Linked DNA regions of Homo sapiens: all the other regions are linked to region 4. The links are contacts of gene promoters, found by promoter capture Hi-C in blood cells and fetal thymus (Javierre and others, 2016). All regions are on one chromosome and are shown on one strand. The core of a region is centred on a gene start or on the middle of the fragment in contact, and the rest is flanking DNA. Distances in the headings are between cores, read along the strand shown. Region 1 overlaps LINC02223 (long intergenic non-protein coding RNA 2223). Region 2 has its middle 65 kb from the start of LINC02223. Region 3 has its middle 190 kb from the start of LINC02223. Region 4 holds the start of BASP1 (brain abundant membrane attached signal protein 1). Region 5 has its middle 210 kb from the start of LINC02223. Region 6 has its middle 1.9 kb from the start of LINC02223.

Region 1 (2,908 bases), core at 148-2,647, 690 kb after region 4:
TCTGTCCCTCTGAGTGGGAGCTACAAGTTAGTCCTGCCTCTTATCCACCATTTTTCCTCTAATTGACACCCTGTTTTTTGAGGCAGAATTTTATTCTCATAGCATGTGAATAAATACATTCTACTATGATATGAATGTTTCTAACCCCTAAATTCATATGTTGAAATCCTAACACGCAAAGTGATGGTATTAGGTGCTGAAGGCCTTTTGGGAAGTGATTACATCATCATAAATGTGATCAGTGCCCTTATAAAAATAGGCCAAAGAAAACTCATTTATTCCTTCCACCATGTGAAGACACAGAACCAGAAAGTATGCCCTCAGTAGACGCTGGATCCGATGCTTTGATCTTGGATTTCCCAGCCTCCAGAGCTGTGAAAGATAAATTATGCATTTTTTTAATGGCCCAAACAGATTAAGACATGTTTCTGAGAGCATTGCTCTTAATATATGTAAGGTGAAGTAGTTAAGGAATGAACTGGTTTTTTAACAGGTGATTTGCTTGATACAGTCCTAATACAATGAATGCCACATGTAATTGGAAGCCCAATAAATTAGTTTGAAATAATTTCACCTGCTATAGAGAATACTCCTTCCCTTTACTAGATCAAGTTTTTTGAGGTTAAGAGTAGGCAAATATCAGCTCTTTATAATAAGGAAGATTTGGAACTAAGTCTGGCATTACACTTGTTGAGAGATAATTCTCCATGGGTTTCTCACAATTCTGCACATCTTGTGAGCAGAGACACTGGCAATCTTTGTTTTGGGCTATTTTTTTCAAGGATATTTCTATAGCAAACAACACTGGAAGGTAGAGGTAATATCTCCTCCTAAGCTTAGGGGTCACTTGGCTGGGATGCAAACCCAGTGCATGCACAGCATTCTCTTGGGTGCCTCTCTGTCACCCCTGTGGGACTTAGAGAGCAAGAGGAACCAACATAGCCATGAGACTCATGCTTCCCGTTGTGCTATGAGTAATAAAGGCCTTTGTTTCTGTCCCAGGAGTCTTGTGCCTTTGATCAGCCTCCATGAAACTGTGGCACGCAAACTTGTTACATTGCACATAGGGTCAAATCTCAGGCCCTTCAAAATTCTTGAAAAACTTTTGATGGGTTAAACAGAACCATATAAGTTGACATTTTGCCAAGGAAAAAGAAAGTTTAAGGGGCCTATGACAAAGTTGCCTTAATCCCCTTCTCTGTGATTAAATACTCTATTTACATGTTTGTTTTGTTGTTGTTTGTTTCTTGTTTTTAAAATGGCAAAGAAAATTTGTTTTAAAGGCGTGCCAGGTAAGTAAGAAAAGAGAGTGTTTGGGTAAGGTACAGAAGCATTTGCTAAGGTGGAGTCAACTCTCAAGTGTGGAGCTCCAGCCATCAGATAGGATGGCAAAAATGTGTGATTCCTAATAGAAGGAAAAATAGGCTTTTGCTCAGTAAATACCTCATTCATAATTTATTCTCCTCAGTCCTCTTTTTAAATGGAGAGGCAAATATAAGTTATATCAATAATTTATTTTTACATAACAACCAACAGTGCATTTGATACAGTTTTCTATAAAATAAAGAGGTGATTTTTAAAATTTGTTTCTTCTTTCAAATTTGGCTTAATTATCCCTCAATAATTCCTCTTTACTGAACTTTATTCCACCCTTTATTGATCTGCATGGTAGCAACAAGTTAGAGTTTTAAAGACAACTTGTCAGTTTGACATATCAGATAAAGCAGCTAGTTAAGCTATACTTTTTATGTTTCCTCGTGTGACTAAGAAGTCACAGTCACTCTGTTTTATACATATCACAGAAAGTCTCCAAATAACTGGAATCCATCAAGTGAATTAATACGCCTAAAGGCAATCTGTGTTATAGCTAGTGGATTAGATAGCTGTCTAAAGTTTAGAAACTTGTGTATCTAACAATGTGAAAATTCAAAAATACTTAGTAAAATACATCAACAGACTCAAGCTTCACTGTAAACAGGTCACACTAGCCAGAGGGATCTTCTTTGGTCTGTCATTATGAAAAAGTTGAACCATCATCAAATGGGCACATAGCTTTCCCAGTTTCTCAAATACCCATCAGGACAAGAAATATTTCAATATATTTCCTTCTTAAGCTGCATTTAAAGAAAAAGTAGTGGTACTCTACAAAATTAAAATAGTTACAATTAAGGAGGAATAATTTAGAAATTATAATCTTGTCAACTTGAATTAGTTAAAAGGAAAACAAAACCCAACATAAAAATTATACAACCCTTAATAAAATAAAATGATCCTGGATACCACTGGCGACATTCTTCCTTTTTGATGACATTTGAATATGCTTTAATACTTGGATTGTTTAAAACTATTTTTGGTTGTTTTAGAATCATTGAGACCAATATGTTATCACTGGCTATCCTGCAGTTACAATGATCAAGATTTGGTCAAGTTTTGACTCCAATTAGGAATATCAAGGGTGTGTGTGTGTGTGTGTTTTAATCTATCTTTCTCTTTTTTGTTTGCAAACCCAAGAATTTCTGTGGGTCACTCAGGGTTTGATCAGAAAAAGAGGACTTACAGTATAGGTGTACAATAAGGGATTTATTACAGAGATTTGCCTTTACGCAAATGTGGGGGCTACATACGTCGTCTATGTGAGACTATTGTTTTTCTATCTGACTTTCGTAGCGAAAGTCCACAGGGCAAGTATTTTAGAAGGAAAAATGGAAACAATGAGAGGACTCATGGACAAAAAAGATGTTCTTCTATTTGTGATTGGATGAGCTATAAAACAAGGACAGCATGTGTACAATCCATAAACTAAAGTCATTCAGCAATTAGATCAAAGAGGCATTTGAAGCCAATAATGACATGAGAAGGTGAGTAAACTCCTTGTTATAATGAGGAGAGTGGCTGAGAATTTGCAGAA
Region 2 (3,086 bases), core at 278-2,777, 520 kb after region 4:
GTGTTATATAAAATGTATACTATGTTGTTGCGTGGTTCGTTGTTTTTATTTTGATGAACCCGCTTTAAATATGAAAAGTATAAGTACTGTCACTTCTGTTATAACATGACAAATGTGTTCCTATAAGTCACACTGTTGTGGAAAATTACATAACATAAAAGGGCTTGTGAGAAAAATGGGGCTATGGGTATAATACCGCCAAACTAAGTCACTGACACATAAATAAGATAGGAACATACTAAAACAAGTAGCACAGTCTTACATATGTTATGTGGTTAAGAAATAAATAATAGAATAAATGTAGCCTTTTATCTTGAAAAATACTTGAAGTTTGGTTGTAGAAGAGTTGCAGCTTGCCAGTTATTGTGAAGTAGAGGAAGGACAGTTATTTTCAAGTCATGGGAAAGTTGTAACACTAGAAGGGTATGGCTCATAACCCATGAGTAAACTGAGATAATTGACAAATTCTCGGTGTTCGTATGTTTTATGTATTCCTTTGAGGCTCAGTTTCAGCAGAGTGCCATTTTCTGCATTCACCTGATGTTCCTTAAAGATGAAATAACTATACATAACTGTGAAATGTAAAATTAATGTTATGCTCACAGTTTTTGCTAATATATTAATGGTGTAGAAACAAATTTGCATATCAAAATATGCATACAAAACAAAACTGACTACATCTTGTTCGAAATCATCATTGGCATCATCATCATCATCGTTATCATCACCATGATTACTTAACATTTTCATGAGTTGATTTTATCATAACTTCTTGGGCATAAATTTTATCTGTAAGAATGTTTTATTGAAACACTTTAATAACAATTCTGGGAAATAATTATCTTTCAGAATAATGTGAAAATCTATTATCGCAATTAGAGAATAAATCCATAAGATGATATTTGGCTCCTATGAAGCTTTTGTTTTTGGCTTGCAGACTCTCCTTTGGAGACAAATAACAAGATAACAATTATCTTGTTATTTCTCTCAGTTCCAGGTAAACAAAAGGTGCCTAATACAAGCATATTAACCTGACTTGACTTAACTCAGAGGAAATGAAAAGTTCCAGCCAAGTAAGGTTAACTCAGACAAAACTCAGTTACCCTTTTTGAAGTCCTTTCCAAAATCAATGGTGATTTATTTCAGTGACCCCCCTTAAAGCGTACATACATTTCCACAGAATCAGCGTATTAATCTGTTCTCATGCTGCTATGAAGAAATATCTGAGACTGGGTAGTTTATAAAGAAAAGAGGTTTATTGACTCACAGTTTTGCATGGCTGGAGAGGCCTCAGGAAACTTAACAATCATGGCAGAAGGCACCTCTTCACAGGGCGGCAGGAGAGAGAATGAGTGCTGAGCAAAGGTGGAAACCCCTTATAAAACCATCAGATCTTGTGAGAACTCACTCACTATCACAAAAACAGCACGGGGAAAACTGCCCCCATGATTCAGTTATCTCCACCTGGTCCCTCCCTTGACATGTGGGGATTATTACAATTCAAGGTGAGATCTCGTTGGGGACACAGAGTCAAACCATATCAATCAGGGATAGGCACCCATGTGTGAGGGCAGTAGACAGAATCCAAGGGGCAAATAGATGCTGTGCCTTAAGAAAAGATTAGTACCTTTGACTGTTTATCTGGATTTTGCTAGTAGGTTTCTTTTTCCTGCAGCAGTAAAACCATCCCAAGCTCTGAGGAGTACCACTGACATACCCACTCCATTTGTGGTCCCTGAATGCTCTTTGACCCGTTTGAGGAACCAGGAGATAATTAGTTTCTAAAATATGATTTGAGAACATCCACTCTCCAACCACAATTTATTGAATTATCTGTACTACTAATTGATTTAATTCTAACAATGACTCTCTCAGAACCTTACTGCGGAAGGGAGCCTGGATATTTTAGTCCATTTCCTTTTCTCCCCACTCTGATTTCTTGAGAAAAAAATAATAGGGTTAACTACTGCAGAGCAATTCCTTTAGGAATGTAACAAATCTGCATTACTTATCGCTAGAAATTATGAGTGGATGATAATGATTTGAATGATTTGCAGGTTTCTTGATAGTTTTCTGCAAAATTAGACCAGGAAGGAGTGAGTTAGTAGGAAGTTGAGCTTGGTGGAGGCCATGAACAATAAGCTTGAGAAGCTTGAGGAGCATATTAATTGACTTAACTCACATGTGACCATGATTATCAGTACCTATTATTTGGAATGCAGAAATTCAAGAATGTTACTAAATCAGTTCAACACCAATCTCCAAAGGTCCCATTGGCTTAAATTAAACCTGAGACTCAGCAAAAAATGAAACCAAATCGTGGGTATTGTATAAACTCTGTTTTACTATTGAAAATACAAACTGAAAAACTGATTTTATGCACCACTTAGCTGCTGTTAAATTCATCTTCAGTGACTTATCGATTTGTAATGACACTGGGAAAAAGAGAGATTACACAGTGCTGGAATCTTATATTCTCTAAATAAGCCCTTCAGTTAAAACACAAACACATATTATATAATCACATAAAATAAAAATATAATATTATGGAAAGATAAATATTAAGCCGTTATTTTAATTTATTTGTAAAGTTAACAAAATTTAATGCATTAAACTTATACTCAAACATTTGATACTACAAAATTTTATGCTCTTTTTCTCAAAAGGGAAAATGGCATAAAACTTAAGTAAAAATTAATATATAAGAATGCTCCTGTTCTTGAATTAACTAACCCACTGCCAAATAAAGGTAATGGTATAAAATGTATTGCGATGCTTGCACCAGGAATCTGATGTGGGATATCAGGAGAATGTTCTATGATACCTCTGAACCAGACTTTGTAAAGCAGCTTTTATTATTCAGGATTGGCATTACAGGTCTATTACTTAAACTCATATTGAGGAGTCAGGAGAAAGGAGTTGCAGACATGAGCTGTCAGGGCCTATGGGTCTTGCTGTGTGGACACGAGTTGTGGAGAGGGAAAATGAAGCTGATATGCACAAAGATGCAGAAATAAGGAGCAGGGAGAATCTCATGTAGTCCAAGTCCACAGAATTCCCACCTGTACCCTAATCCCACTCCAGGC
Region 3 (3,193 bases), core at 163-2,662, 780 kb after region 4:
GATACTCTTGTACTTGAGTCCTGTGAGAGATTCTCCTGTGTCAGGAGCACAACTTAACTCTGAAATGTTGGCCAAAATTTGACATAGATTTACCAAATAGTCTCATAATATTAATATCATGTTGACTCTGCAGAAATCTGCAACTAGACTATGTGAACTTTTTTCTTTTAGATGTCTCAATTTTGAGAAATACATAAAAAGATGAGTGATATTCTTTTAAATATTATTGAGAATTTAATTGGATTATAGTGGACTAAGACAAGCAAAGTATTTTACTTACAATAATGATCAATGTATATACGTAAGAAATAGTTTTATTAGAAGGAAAAAGTCTTGGCAATTTCCTTTGACTATTACTCTCAAGAACTTAATTCTGAAAACTTTTACATTATTATAACAATTTCCTGAAAATTCTTCATGTATGTTATATATCTGGAATAAAAATTAATATGTTAGACTTCTTGGAGACAAACATAGGCAAAATTATTGTGTATAGAATGCATTTTCTTTCTAGTTTTCTAACTGAAACTAATCAAATGTGTCATTTGCTTCAGTTTTTTAAATGTTATTTTTAATTGATAGATAATAATTGTATAGATTTACACGGTACAAACTGATGTTTTGGTACATATACGCTTTGCAGAATGATTAAATAATGCTAATTAATATATCTATCACTTCACATACTTATTTCTTTGTGATGGGAAAATTCAAATCCACTCTTTCCACAATTTTGAAATATACAATATGTTATTATTAACTGTAGTCACAATGCTGTGCAGTAGGACACCAGAACTTATCCTTCCTGTCTAAGTGAAACTTTGTACTCTTTGACCAATGTCTTCCCTTTCCCTGCATTCTTCCCCCAACCTAGTCTCTGGTAAGCGTCATCCTGCTTTCTACTTCTATGAGTTTGACAATTTTAGATTCCACATATAAGTGAGATCATGTGGTATTTCCCTTTCTGTGCCTGGCTTACTTCACTTAGCATAATGTCCTCTAGGTATATCCATGTTGTTGCAAATGATAAATATCCTTTTTCTAAAGGGTGAATAGTATTTCATTATGTGTACATATATATATCACATTTTCTTTATTCCGTTAATGGGCACTTGGTTGTTTCCATATCTTGATTATTGTGAATAAAGCTTCAATGAACATGGTAGTGCAGATATCTCATTCACACACGGATTGCAATTCCTTGGATATATACCTGGAAGTAGAATTACTGGATTGATCAGATGGTAGTTCTATTTTTACATTTTTGAAGTACCTCCATAATGTTTTCCAAAATGGCTGTGCTGTTACAATACCACAAACAGTGTACAAGGTTTCCCTTTTCTCCACATTCTAGCCAACACTTATCTTTCATCTTTTTGATAATAGCCAATATAACAGGTGTGATGTGTTATCTCATTGAGTTTTTAATTTGCCTTCCTCTGATTTGTGATGTTGAGCACTTTTGTTTTTCATATAGCAGTTGGCCATTTATATGTCTTCTTTTTAGAAATGTTTACTCAGGTCCTTTGTCTATTTTTAATAGTGTTATTTGTTTTCTTGTTATTGAATAGTTTGAGTTCCTTATTTATTTTGGATGTTAGCCCTTATTTAATGTGTGATTTGCAAACATTTTCCCAATTTGTAGATTATCTCTTTGTTGTTTCTTTTGCTGTGCAGAAGCTTTTTGGTTTGAGACACTCCCATTTGTTTATTTTTTGCATTTGTTGCCTTTGGTTTTGGGGTTATATGTAAGAAATCACTGTCCAGACCCATGTTATGGAGCTTTGTTCCTATGTTTTCAACTAGTGGTTCTAAAGTTTCAGGTATTACATTTAAATTTGTAATTTATTTTGCATTTATTCTTGTATACAGGGTGAGTATAAGGGTCCCATTTTATTCTTCTGCATGGGATAGCCAGTCTTTCCAACACAATTTCTTAAAAAGACAGTCCTTTACCCATTGTGTGTTCTTGGCACCTTTGTTGAAAATCAATTGACTGTAGATATCTGGGTTTATTTCTAAACTTTTTATCCTATTCCATTGGTCAATGTGCCAGTTTTTATGTCAGTACTATGCTGTTTTGATTAATATAGCTTTGTAGTATAGAAATCAGGTGGCACAATGCCTCCAGGTTTGTTCCTTTGGGTCAAGATTGCTTCGTTTATTTGGAGTCTTTTGTGGTTCCGTGCAAATTTTAGGATTGTTTTTTCTATTTCTGTGAAGAATTACACAGGCATTTTGATAGAGATTACACTGAATCTGTAGATTACTTTGGGTCCTATGGACATTTTAACATTAATTCTTCCAACCCATGAACATGGGATATCTTTCCATTCACTTCTGTCACCTTCAATTTATTTTACCAATGTCTTAGTTTTTAATATACAGATCATTTATTTCCTTAAACTTACTCCTTGGTATTTTTAATCCTATTATAAATGGGTTTTTTCGTAATTTATTTTTCAGATAGTTCATTTTTAGTGCATCTAAATGCTACTGATCTTTGTATGTAGATTTTATATCCTGGAACTTGCTGAATTCATTTATTTTTTTTTTTTTGTGGAACCTTTAGGGTTTTCCATATGTAAGATCATGTCATCAGCAAACAGAAACAATCTCACTTCTTCCTTTCTTACTCAAATGCCTCTTACTATTTTTTAAAATTTCCTAATTGTTCTGGCTAGTACTTCCAGTTCTAGCTAGAACAGAAGTGAACAGAAGTGGTGAGAATGGGCATCCTTTCCTTGATCCAGATCTTAAAGGAAACTCTTCAAATTTTTACTACTGAGTATGATATAAGCTGCAGACTTGTCATATATGGCCTTTATTGCATGGAAATACCTTCCTTCTATACCAAGCTTTTATGCCCGATAATACTAGTCCAGATAAAACTAGTTAGTTTATGCTAGTCATATACTAGTTTGGTAGTTTTTTATTATAAAATGGTATTGAATTCTGTCAAACACTTTTTCTGCATCTATTTAGATGATCATATGGCATTTGACTTTCATTTTGTTAATATGGTGTATCATATTTACTGATTTGCATATGTTGAGTCATTCTTACATCCCGGCATAAATTCTGCTTGATCATAGTGAATGATCATTTTAATGGACTGTTAAATATGGTTTGCTAGTATTTTGTGGAGGAGTTTTGCACCTATGTTCATCAGTGATACTGGCCTATAGTTTTT
Region 4 (2,794 bases), core at 74-2,573:
AATAAAAGTTCCAAAGGCGTCAACTGGCTTTTGCGGGAAGGTAAAATTGGCTTTTGTGTAATCAAAGAGCTACCGTTGTCAACGATGTCACGTTACGTTATTTTTGTATGTCCCTCTTGCCAACAGGTAAGCAAAGTGAACGCATCTTCCTACCCCGGTGGCTATTCTGTGTCCCGGTGCTAAACCAAGTGTCCGCCCCCTTAGGGCACCCGGACAAGCCGCGGTTGGCCCTAGCTTTGACTCGAGCGCTCGCAAGCAGCAGCGTGCGGGCTGCCTCGGCCAACCCCGTCTTCTCAATATTGGTGGCCTCCATTAAAGCACAGACATCAAAAACATCGACGGCCCCTTTCCCCTCTTCTCTTCCCTCCTTCCTCTCCCAAGTTCCGAGAGCATCCTCCGAGGGGCGACGTCTCTCGCCCCACCAGCTGGACCTCGGCGACCGCGCCTCCCCCGAAGCTGCAGCCTTCGGGGCTGAGCCCCGCGGGTGCGGGTGCAGGTGCGGAGCCGCCCAAGGTGCGCAACTCGTTTGCAGCGGCGCAGCCCAGACGCGCCTGCAGCTGGGGCTCACCCCAACCTCGCTGCCAGCCGAGGTAGCGGAATCGTAGTCGACGTCGGGAGCGGGCTGGACTGGGGTCTGAGAAGGGTAGCTGGTGCCAGGGGGTGTCATTCATCACCTCGAGGCAGCTCCCTAAGTCTGAGCGAGAGCCCGAGCACTTCTTATCCAACGGTTCCAAATAAATGAGGGGGAGAGAGAGAGAGAGAGTGAGAGAGAGAGAGAGAGAGAGAGAGTGAGTGAGAGAGTGAGAGAGTGGGAGAAGTCCACGGACAGCCCAGGCGGCGCGGCGGGGGAAGGGGGACGCAGGAATGGAGGAGAGGAGAGGGGAGGCGGAGGGGGGATCTGAATAGAGGGCATTTAGGAAACGTTGGCGGGGCACAGAGTTGGGAGGTGGGGGGAAGGGAGGAACCAGGATGGCGGATAGGAGAGAAATGGGGGTGACTGTGCTGGAGGGGAGGGGAGGTGGGGGCCCAGAGCTGGGGGGAGTCAAGGGGAGGCGGGCGTGTCCAGGCTGGAGGGGAGAGGGGAGGGTCTGCGCCGGAGGAGGGGAGGGGAGCAGAGGGAGTGCAGGGGGTGGGGAGATGGAGCTGGAGGGGGTGGAGGGGAGACGGGCGGGGCGCCGGGCTGGAGGGAGGGGAGAGAGGCGGGCGGGGAGCGCGGGAGGAGGGAGGCTGGGCGGGCGGACGCGCGGGGGGAGGGCACTGGGCAGGAAGGGGAGGGGGAGCGAGCGCGAGAAATGCAGAGGCTGCAGCGGCGGCGGCGGCGGCAGTAGCGGCAGCGGCGACGACGGCGGCGGCAGCGCTCCAACTGGCTCCTCGCTCCGGGCTCCGCCGTCGAGCCGGGAGAGAGCCTCCGCCAGCGGCCAGGCACCAGCCAGACGACGCCAGCGACCCCGGCCTCTCGGCGGCACCGCGCTAACTCAGGGGCTGCATAGGCACCCAGAGCCGGTAAGGAGGCGCGCCCGGTGGCCCCGCGCCGCCGCGGACCCGGGGGCCTCCGTCCCCCACCGCGCCGCGCCCCGCCCCGCAGCCCCCGGGCTCTCCCTTCATGCAGCGGGCAGCAGGGATGTGGGCCCGGATTGGACGGCAAGGGCCTGGGGTCCCTCTGTGAGGGCTCCGTCGCACTTCGGGGATCCCGGGTGATGGGGGGCCCAGAAGTGGGAGGCTTCAGCCGCTCGCATGGTGGAGGGGTGAGGGGGGCGGCGAGGTTGGTAAACGGAGCTGGGGGGAGGGGGCTGTCGGGGAGAGGAGCTGCGGGTGACGGGAGGAATTGCCGAATGCGAAACCCCCTCAGTGCGTTGAGTCCCGGGGAGACGGTTCTGTGGGCTGAAGGGAGCGCTTCCGTCATCGGAGCCCTTACCAGCCTGGGAGAAAGCGCTCGGGGCGAGGGGCGCAGCAGCCAAAGATGGAGGGTGGGGGTGGGGTGGGGCGGGAGTCCGGGGAGAAAGAAGATGGGGAATCTGGCCCGATCAGAAGGAAGTGGGTGGCTTTTTGCTTTGGCAAACGGGTTTTCTCGACCCATGGGACTCCTGGATCTTGGTTCTGGGGCCAAGGAATACGAGGTTCACACGGCGACGTGCACTCAGAAGCACCTCCCGAGCAGATCGGAGCCCCAGCCTCGTCAGTGGCGGAATTGCCTTCCTACGAACCCGTGGGCTGCCTCGGAGCAGTTTGTTTTTTCGAGCCTTTGGTTCCAAGAATGCGCCAGGCGCCTCCGCCCTGGGTCCCGGCCCCGGCCCGGGCCCGGGGGGTGTGGGCTTGAACCTGACAGCGCGCGGCCCTAACTGGGCTCAGCCCCGCTGGGAGCGTAGGGTTGGGGTTGAGCAGCTTTTGCCCAAAGCGCTAAAGCTGAAACCCGGCGCCCGGTTCCTGCTCCCCCCGCCCCCGTCCCCCCTCCATTTCCAGAAAAATAAAAATTGCGGAATCCTGGATCCGATCGCACGCACAATGCGCGGCTGCAAACCGCATTCTTTTCATGAATATTCATCGAACGCTTGGCCAGGCTCCTTATCTGCGTCCCCAGAGACATTTCCGCCTTGAAACGAACTCGGTGGACAGCCCTTGCCCATGTAATTCTCACTCTGCTGAAATTAGCACAGCACACATGGGTGCATTTTTTAGGACCTTGTACAGGTTGACAACACCTCTGTCTCCCCCGCGGCCACTCGCACTGTGGGGCGGGCTAAAACCCAACACTAGCGTCGAAATGGCCTTCTGCTATAGGGTTGTGGACCGACCC
Region 5 (3,009 bases), core at 365-2,864, 800 kb after region 4:
TATTGTCATCTGTGTTGTAGCATGACAAAAATGTTTAACCTGATTCAATTTATGTGAAAATATTCCAGATTGTAGAATATTCTACAAGAACAATTGCCATGACAGTTCAAAATATCAAAATTGTATAAAATGAAAAGAAAGTGGGGCTGTTTATTCTAGATCAAAGAAGATTAAACATGAAAACTAAATGTGATGTGTGATCTTTGGATGTTGGATAGTGAAAAAGTTAAGAAAAATTTTGAGATGAATAAATGAATTTGTGAGCTGTTTTAAAAATAATATTATCTAAATATTTATTGAGTGTGAGGATGTTACTGTCATTATACAGATGAATGTCCCAGTTTAGGAAGTGCATGATGAAATATTGAGAGATGAAGTGTCATGGTGCCTACTTCTTACTTTCAAATGTTTGAGCAGAAAAAAATTCTGTGTGTGTGTCTGTGTCTGTATGTGTGTATGTGTGTGTGTGTGTGTATTTCTTACCGAGTCCAGCTTGGTAAATTATGTTTTTCAAGAAATTTGCCTATATTAACTAGGTTGTCAAATTTATGAGCACACTATCTATTATTCTTTTAATAAAGTGATTAATATGGTATCCTTTTATTATCTTTTTTTTAAAGAAAAATCACTGGTGATACCCCATTTTCATTCCTAAGGCTACTATTCTAAGCTTTCCTTAATTTTTTCCTCATAATTAGTCTTGCTAATAGTTTATTAATAATTTCCAGGAATCAGAATTTGGCTTTGATTTTTCTCTACTCTGTGTCTGTTTTGTATTTTCATTGATTTCTGATAGTTTATATTTCTTTCTACTTGGGAATAATTTGCTGGATTTTCTTGTGGTTTAGTGACATGAAAGCATATACTATTCATTTCAATTTTTTTCTTTTTTAAAATATAATTGAAAACTAAAAACTTGTCTGATACCATGTCACTACATGCCAAAAGTTTGAATAAATTGTATTATCATTCAATTCACCTACATATAAGTTTTCTTTATGTCTTCTGTGACCCATACATTTTTGAAGTGTTTTGCTTAATCTCTTATTTATTTATTTTTTTTTTTTTTGAGATGGAGTCTCGCTCTGTCGCCCAGGCTGGAGTGCAGTGGCACGAACTCGGCTCACTGCAAGCTCCGCCTCCCGGGTTCACGCCATTCTCCTGCCTCAGCCGCCCGAGTAGCTGGGACTACAGGCACCCGCCACCACGCCTGGCTAATTTTTTGTATTTTTAGTAGAGACGGGGTTTCACCGTATTAGCCAGGATGGTCTTGATCTCCTGACCTCGTGATCCACCTGCTTCGGCCTCCCAAAGTGCTGGGATTACAGGCATGAGCCACTACTCCCCGCCTTGCTTAATTTCTTAATATTCTGGGATTATTCAATATACATTCAGTTTTGCTAAATACTCCTTCACTTAAAAAATATGTGTATTTCTTAGATGTTGGATACAGGGTTCTATATATGTCTATTAAGTCAATGCGGTGTGTTCTAAAGAAGAAATGTCAAAATCTTCAACTTTGATAGTTCCTTTTTAAAATATTTCCTTGTTTTTACTTCATAAATTTGGACGTTATATCATTAGGTACCTGCATATTTAATTTGCTATGCCTTCCTGAAAGATTGATCCTTTTATTATTATGAATTATCTCTCTTAATCTTTTCTAATACCTCTTGGTTTTAAATCTATTTTGTCTAGTAGGAATACAGCCAGACATTCTTCATTGTTGTTGATGATAGAATTGCATAGTACATTATATTTTATAATTTTATTTTTAAAGTATCTGTATCCTAAGATTTAAAGTGTATGTTTAAATTGTGCTAAAGCCAGCATATAATTGGGTTTTGTTATTGTCATTTAGATTAACAATCTTTTCTTTTTAATTGTAGTATACAGAGGATCCTGTGTTTGCCTCACAGATTTAGAATTTTCATTTTTTATTTTCATATGAATCTCTACTAAAATTGCCACATTTACATCCATTTTATTTGTCTTTTCCTCATTTGTCTTGAGTATGCTAATAATATATTAAACTCTTCATCCTCCAACACCAGTATCTGGATTGCCTATGAGTCTATTTGTATAATTCATGTTTTGTTTTTTAAATTATTGGTCAAATTTCTGTACTACTTCATATATCTATTAATTTTTGATTGTTTGCTAGACAATATTTTAAAAGAACCATTGTATGCTGCACAGATTGGGCCAAGTTTTTAGTTGTGTTGCAGTTTTAAAAAGATTCACATTCTTTCTGGTACTTTTGTGCGGTGTGGCCATTCCAGATTTTGATTAAAACTCTGGCTGATCTCTTTCTCCTCAGTGCTGAATAACTACAACTTAACTATATAACTATCAGCTTAACTCTTTAGTCTTCTTTCCTATGCAAATTGTAGCATGTGTATCAAGGAGGAGATTGGCTGTGTATTTGTGGTGGGCTTCCATTCTCTCGTATAACTGTTCTCTTATGCATTGTAGGGATGTGGGATATTTTACTCTCCTTTTATAAAACCTCTTACCTATCCCCGAGTCTCCACTTTCTTTAGCACATGTCCTGTGGGGAAAGCTTACTGACTGTTTGGAGTTCCTTTAGTTTCCCATGTCTCGGGTCAGGCTCATGAGATAAGCAATAGCTTTGTTGGATTCTCTTTTCCTCTGATAGAGGATGCCTACTAGGGCTTAGCTTGAGCCTCACCCATGCACCAAATTAATTAAGGCTTTACAGGCTGAAAGCAGCCAGTGATTATCAGCTACAGAAGGGTCTCCCTTGCCTGAGATTTTGGTTTATCACATTCTTGTTGTTTCCATAGATCTCTAATCTCTAAAATATGACTTTCCAAATGTATCTATTTCTTTCTAATAATTACACTAGGAAAATTGGTTTTCTGTTACTACATGTTACTTAGATATGGAAATGTTTTCTATTTATAGAATTTTTGTTAACCCTCTTACTTTGTTTTTTATGTTTATCATATATGTTAGTAATCCAAACTCTAGAATAATATATAGGAA
Region 6 (2,964 bases), core at 73-2,572, 590 kb after region 4:
AGGTTGGATATTTATTGGAAACATGTCAATTTAGTTTTATTTTAATGGTTTAGACTGAAATATTGATTGACAACACTTTAGTAATTGCTCAATATAAAAACTGGTCAGCAATTAATTTTACAAACATTTATTATGTGTCAGGCTTTGGGTTTGGCAAGGAAGACAAAAGATAAGTATGTGGCTCTCACTCTCAAGATCCTTATAGTTTCATTCTTTGGCTCAATAAGCTGTTTTCTGAGGAAGGATCTGATGTTTAACTTTATTGCTGTACAACCTATGTTGCAGTAGGGTGTTGCAGAAAGTATTGAATTACACCTCCAAGTAAAATAATATTTGCCTAGTAGGCAATTGGTCTTAACTGGATGAAGTTTTGCCTACTCATGCTACAACTATTTATTGAATAACTATTTTGTATCAAGCACTGTTGTAAACACTACAGATATAGTAGAAATCAAGACAAACAGAATCTCTACCCTCATGGAGCTTACATCCTAGCAGGGACTGGGGAGGAGGAGGTAGCATGCACTTTTGCACTTTTTTTTTTAGTAGGACAATGAGTCAAAGGTGCCCTAGAAATTGAAGCTTCTGACTTGATACTAAGCAATTAATATGGCCTACTTGCTTTCTATACTGTATGGCACTGACCCAAAGGAAAAGAAAGAGCTTCTACAATACTTGTAAGTACTTTTCTAACACTTGCAAGTGATTTTAAAGTCAGACAACAAAAAACTTATAATAATATAACCCTTCCAAATTATGTGTTAAGAATAGTATACAAAAATTATTAACACTATTCATGTAGGGTAGTGATTTTAAGTTTTGGACATTCAGAAGTGGTTAAAATTTCTTAGCAATAGTTTACCTGGAGCTTTCCCTTGACCTGACAATTGGCAAAACCCACAGGTTCTTTTTTTTTTTGAGACGGAGTCTCGCTCTGTCACCCAGGCTGGACTGCAGGGGCATCATCTCGGCTCACTGCAAGCTCCGTCTCCCGGGTTCATGCCATTCTCTTGCCTCAGCCTCCCGAGTAGCTGGGACTACAGGCGCCCACCACCACGCCTGGCTAATTTTTTTGTATTTTTATTAGAGACCGGGTTTCACCGTGTTAGCCAGGATGGTCTCAATCTCCTGACTTCGTGATCCACCCGCCTCAGCCTCCCAAAGTGCTGGGATTACAGGCTTGAGCCACTGTGCCCAACCAACCCACAGGTTCTTAATGCCTGCTGAAATTGCTACACACTCTCTGTGGGTCTGCTTTGGTTACTAGTGACAATGTCCACCACAAAAAGAACTTGAAAAACATTTATATGTGGCTTCATATCACCTCTCTTTTTCATTTTGAATAATTCATATTTCCTGTTTTAGGATTGCAGTGGAATACATGTTTTCTATTTTCTTTCTTTATCTTTTTTTTGGTTTCTTTCTTCATTTGTTTCTATTTTTTCTCTCTATTTTCACATAAGCATCTAATGTTTTTGGCTCACACTAAAGTATTTTAAATCCATTTCTCCATTATCATTTCTGCCATAACAGTTGGAAGAAACCTAAGTTCTTATGTCCCCAGTCTCTTTTGCAGTGAGAGCAGCCATATGCTTTAGTTCTGGAAACTAAGACATGGCCTGAACTTGCTAAGAGCTCTAGGAAGGATTTTGCTTTTCCTCATGTCAGGGCATGTTATAAGGTATTACCTGATATAATTCCTGGCATGGCTCCTTCTTCCTTCTTTCTTGAAGGCAGACTGCAATGCTGAAAGCTACTGCAGTCATCTTGCAACCAGGAAGTAAACATGAGAAATCCCAAGAGAATTTCAGAAATTGTCAAACCACTGAACCAATGCTAGCTGCTTCCCTCATGACTACTTGTTATGCCAGAAAAATTATCCAATATTTATTAAGCCACCCACTCTATATAGTGTTTCCTGTTATTTTCGGTTGGAAGCGTTCCTATCAGATGATGCCACACACATAACATGCATAAACCATTGTTAGTAATTATTGAAAGTTGAGCATTAAGCTATAAATTAAAACACAACAATGAAGACAAAATGCAATTCTTATCTTGAAGAAGCTTATGGTGAACATTTTATAAGTTAAGCCAATAAGAATCAAAAACCCTTCTGATATTAGTTGAAGGTCTGCAACTAATCTGGACTGGTATGTTTCTTACTGATTCTTGGCGTTTGTTTTCTCATATATAAAACAAGGGATTGCATTATTTCCTGGGTCTATTGCAGGCATAAATTTCCAAGTTTATTAGAATAAAATGTATTTTAAATTCATGGATTTATAACACTTCTGTCGAACGGTATTTTAACATTTGTATTCCATGGATACTTTGGATGCAAAAGAAGCCTTCGCACATTTCCTGTTCACGCTTAGGATTCTGTGCATACTACATTGAAAAAGCTGGGCTATGAGTTTGAGCATTTTGATATGGCATTCTAAAACTTCATTTACTTAGCATTCTAAAAGTCTAGTTTATTTGTTTACCTACTGAACAGCATAAATAGAATACCGGGAAATATCTTTTAGGAAGAATTTTTCCCAAGAAAATCCTATACAACTTCAGTAATTTTCTTCCCTTTTATGAGCACAAAATTCAGACAAAAATAATTCCATTAATATGGAGGTATGGCTGATGCACTAGGTTTGCCAGCCCTTTTGTGATATGACTGCACAATTGTATGAAATTGCCAGAAAGAATTTTCACTGATAGCAGGAAAAGTATTTTAAAATTGCTCTTAGGAGGCATAAAGGACAACAAAGTGTTGCTATACTGTTTAAAAGATTATGAACAAATGTGAATTAATGGAAGAATTGATGATAAACAACATGAATTGCAGTCTACTATATGTTTCCATCTCATTTTGCAATAGCAAGGGGTTATGTGTGCTGACCAAGTGCCAGTTGCTCCAACCAAGCCTTGTTTTTTTTTTTTGTCATGATATGTTGATGCTTAATTCTA

The links. The method cuts DNA at HindIII sites, captures the fragments that hold promoters and counts their contacts. A CHiCAGO score of 5 or more calls a contact.
Region 1: a fragment that was not itself captured here is called in contact with the fragment with the promoter of BASP1 in region 4 in 4 of 17 cell types (monocytes, M2 macrophages, M0 macrophages and 1 more); the score reaches 7.5 in monocytes.
Region 2: a contact is called between a fragment that was not itself captured here and the fragment with the promoter of BASP1 in region 4, in 1 of 17 cell types (monocytes). The highest score is 5.3, in monocytes.
Region 3: a contact is called between a fragment that was not itself captured here and the fragment with the promoter of BASP1 in region 4, in 2 of 17 cell types (megakaryocytes and naive B cells). The highest score is 6.7, in megakaryocytes.
Region 5: a contact is called between a fragment that was not itself captured here and the fragment with the promoter of BASP1 in region 4, in 1 of 17 cell types (M1 macrophages). The highest score is 5.4, in M1 macrophages.
Region 6: a fragment that was not itself captured here is called in contact with the fragment with the promoter of BASP1 in region 4 in 1 of 17 cell types (fetal thymus); the score reaches 5.3 in fetal thymus.

What each region holds. Positions count from the first base shown.
Region 1 is chr5:17,906,307-17,909,214 of GRCh38, forward strand. All of the region lies in intron 5 of LINC02223 (long intergenic non-protein coding RNA 2223), which reads left to right. Among named protein-coding and RNA genes, the nearest start is that of LINC02223, 100 kb to the left of the region's middle. The HindIII fragment of the contact is 1,128 bases long and covers 834-1,961 here.
Region 2 is chr5:17,740,396-17,743,481 of GRCh38, forward strand. No RefSeq gene overlaps it. Among named protein-coding and RNA genes, the nearest start is that of LINC02223, 65 kb to the right of the region's middle. The HindIII fragment of the contact is 1,225 bases long and covers 916-2,140 here.
Region 3 is chr5:17,996,995-18,000,187 of GRCh38, forward strand. No RefSeq gene overlaps it. Among named protein-coding and RNA genes, the nearest start is that of LINC02223, 190 kb to the left of the region's middle. The HindIII fragment of the contact is 532 bases long and covers 1,147-1,678 here.
Region 4 is chr5:17,216,308-17,219,101 of GRCh38, forward strand. It overlaps BASP1 (brain abundant membrane attached signal protein 1), which reads left to right and starts at 1,324. Exons shown (of 2, transcript NM_006317.5): 1 at 1,324-1,503. It overlaps BASP1-AS1 (BASP1 antisense RNA 1), which reads right to left and starts at 1,115. Exons shown (of 3, transcript NR_027253.1): 1 at 1-1,115. RefSeq lists silencers at 1,120-1,599, 2,090-2,409 and an enhancer at 2,444-2,794. The HindIII fragment of the contact is 5,505 bases long and covers 1-2,794 here.
Region 5 is chr5:18,013,775-18,016,783 of GRCh38, forward strand. No RefSeq gene overlaps it. Among named protein-coding and RNA genes, the nearest start is that of LINC02223, 210 kb to the left of the region's middle. The HindIII fragment of the contact is 1,893 bases long and covers 669-2,561 here.
Region 6 is chr5:17,803,845-17,806,808 of GRCh38, forward strand. No RefSeq gene overlaps it. Among named protein-coding and RNA genes, the nearest start is that of LINC02223, 1.9 kb to the right of the region's middle. The HindIII fragment of the contact is 1,485 bases long and covers 581-2,065 here.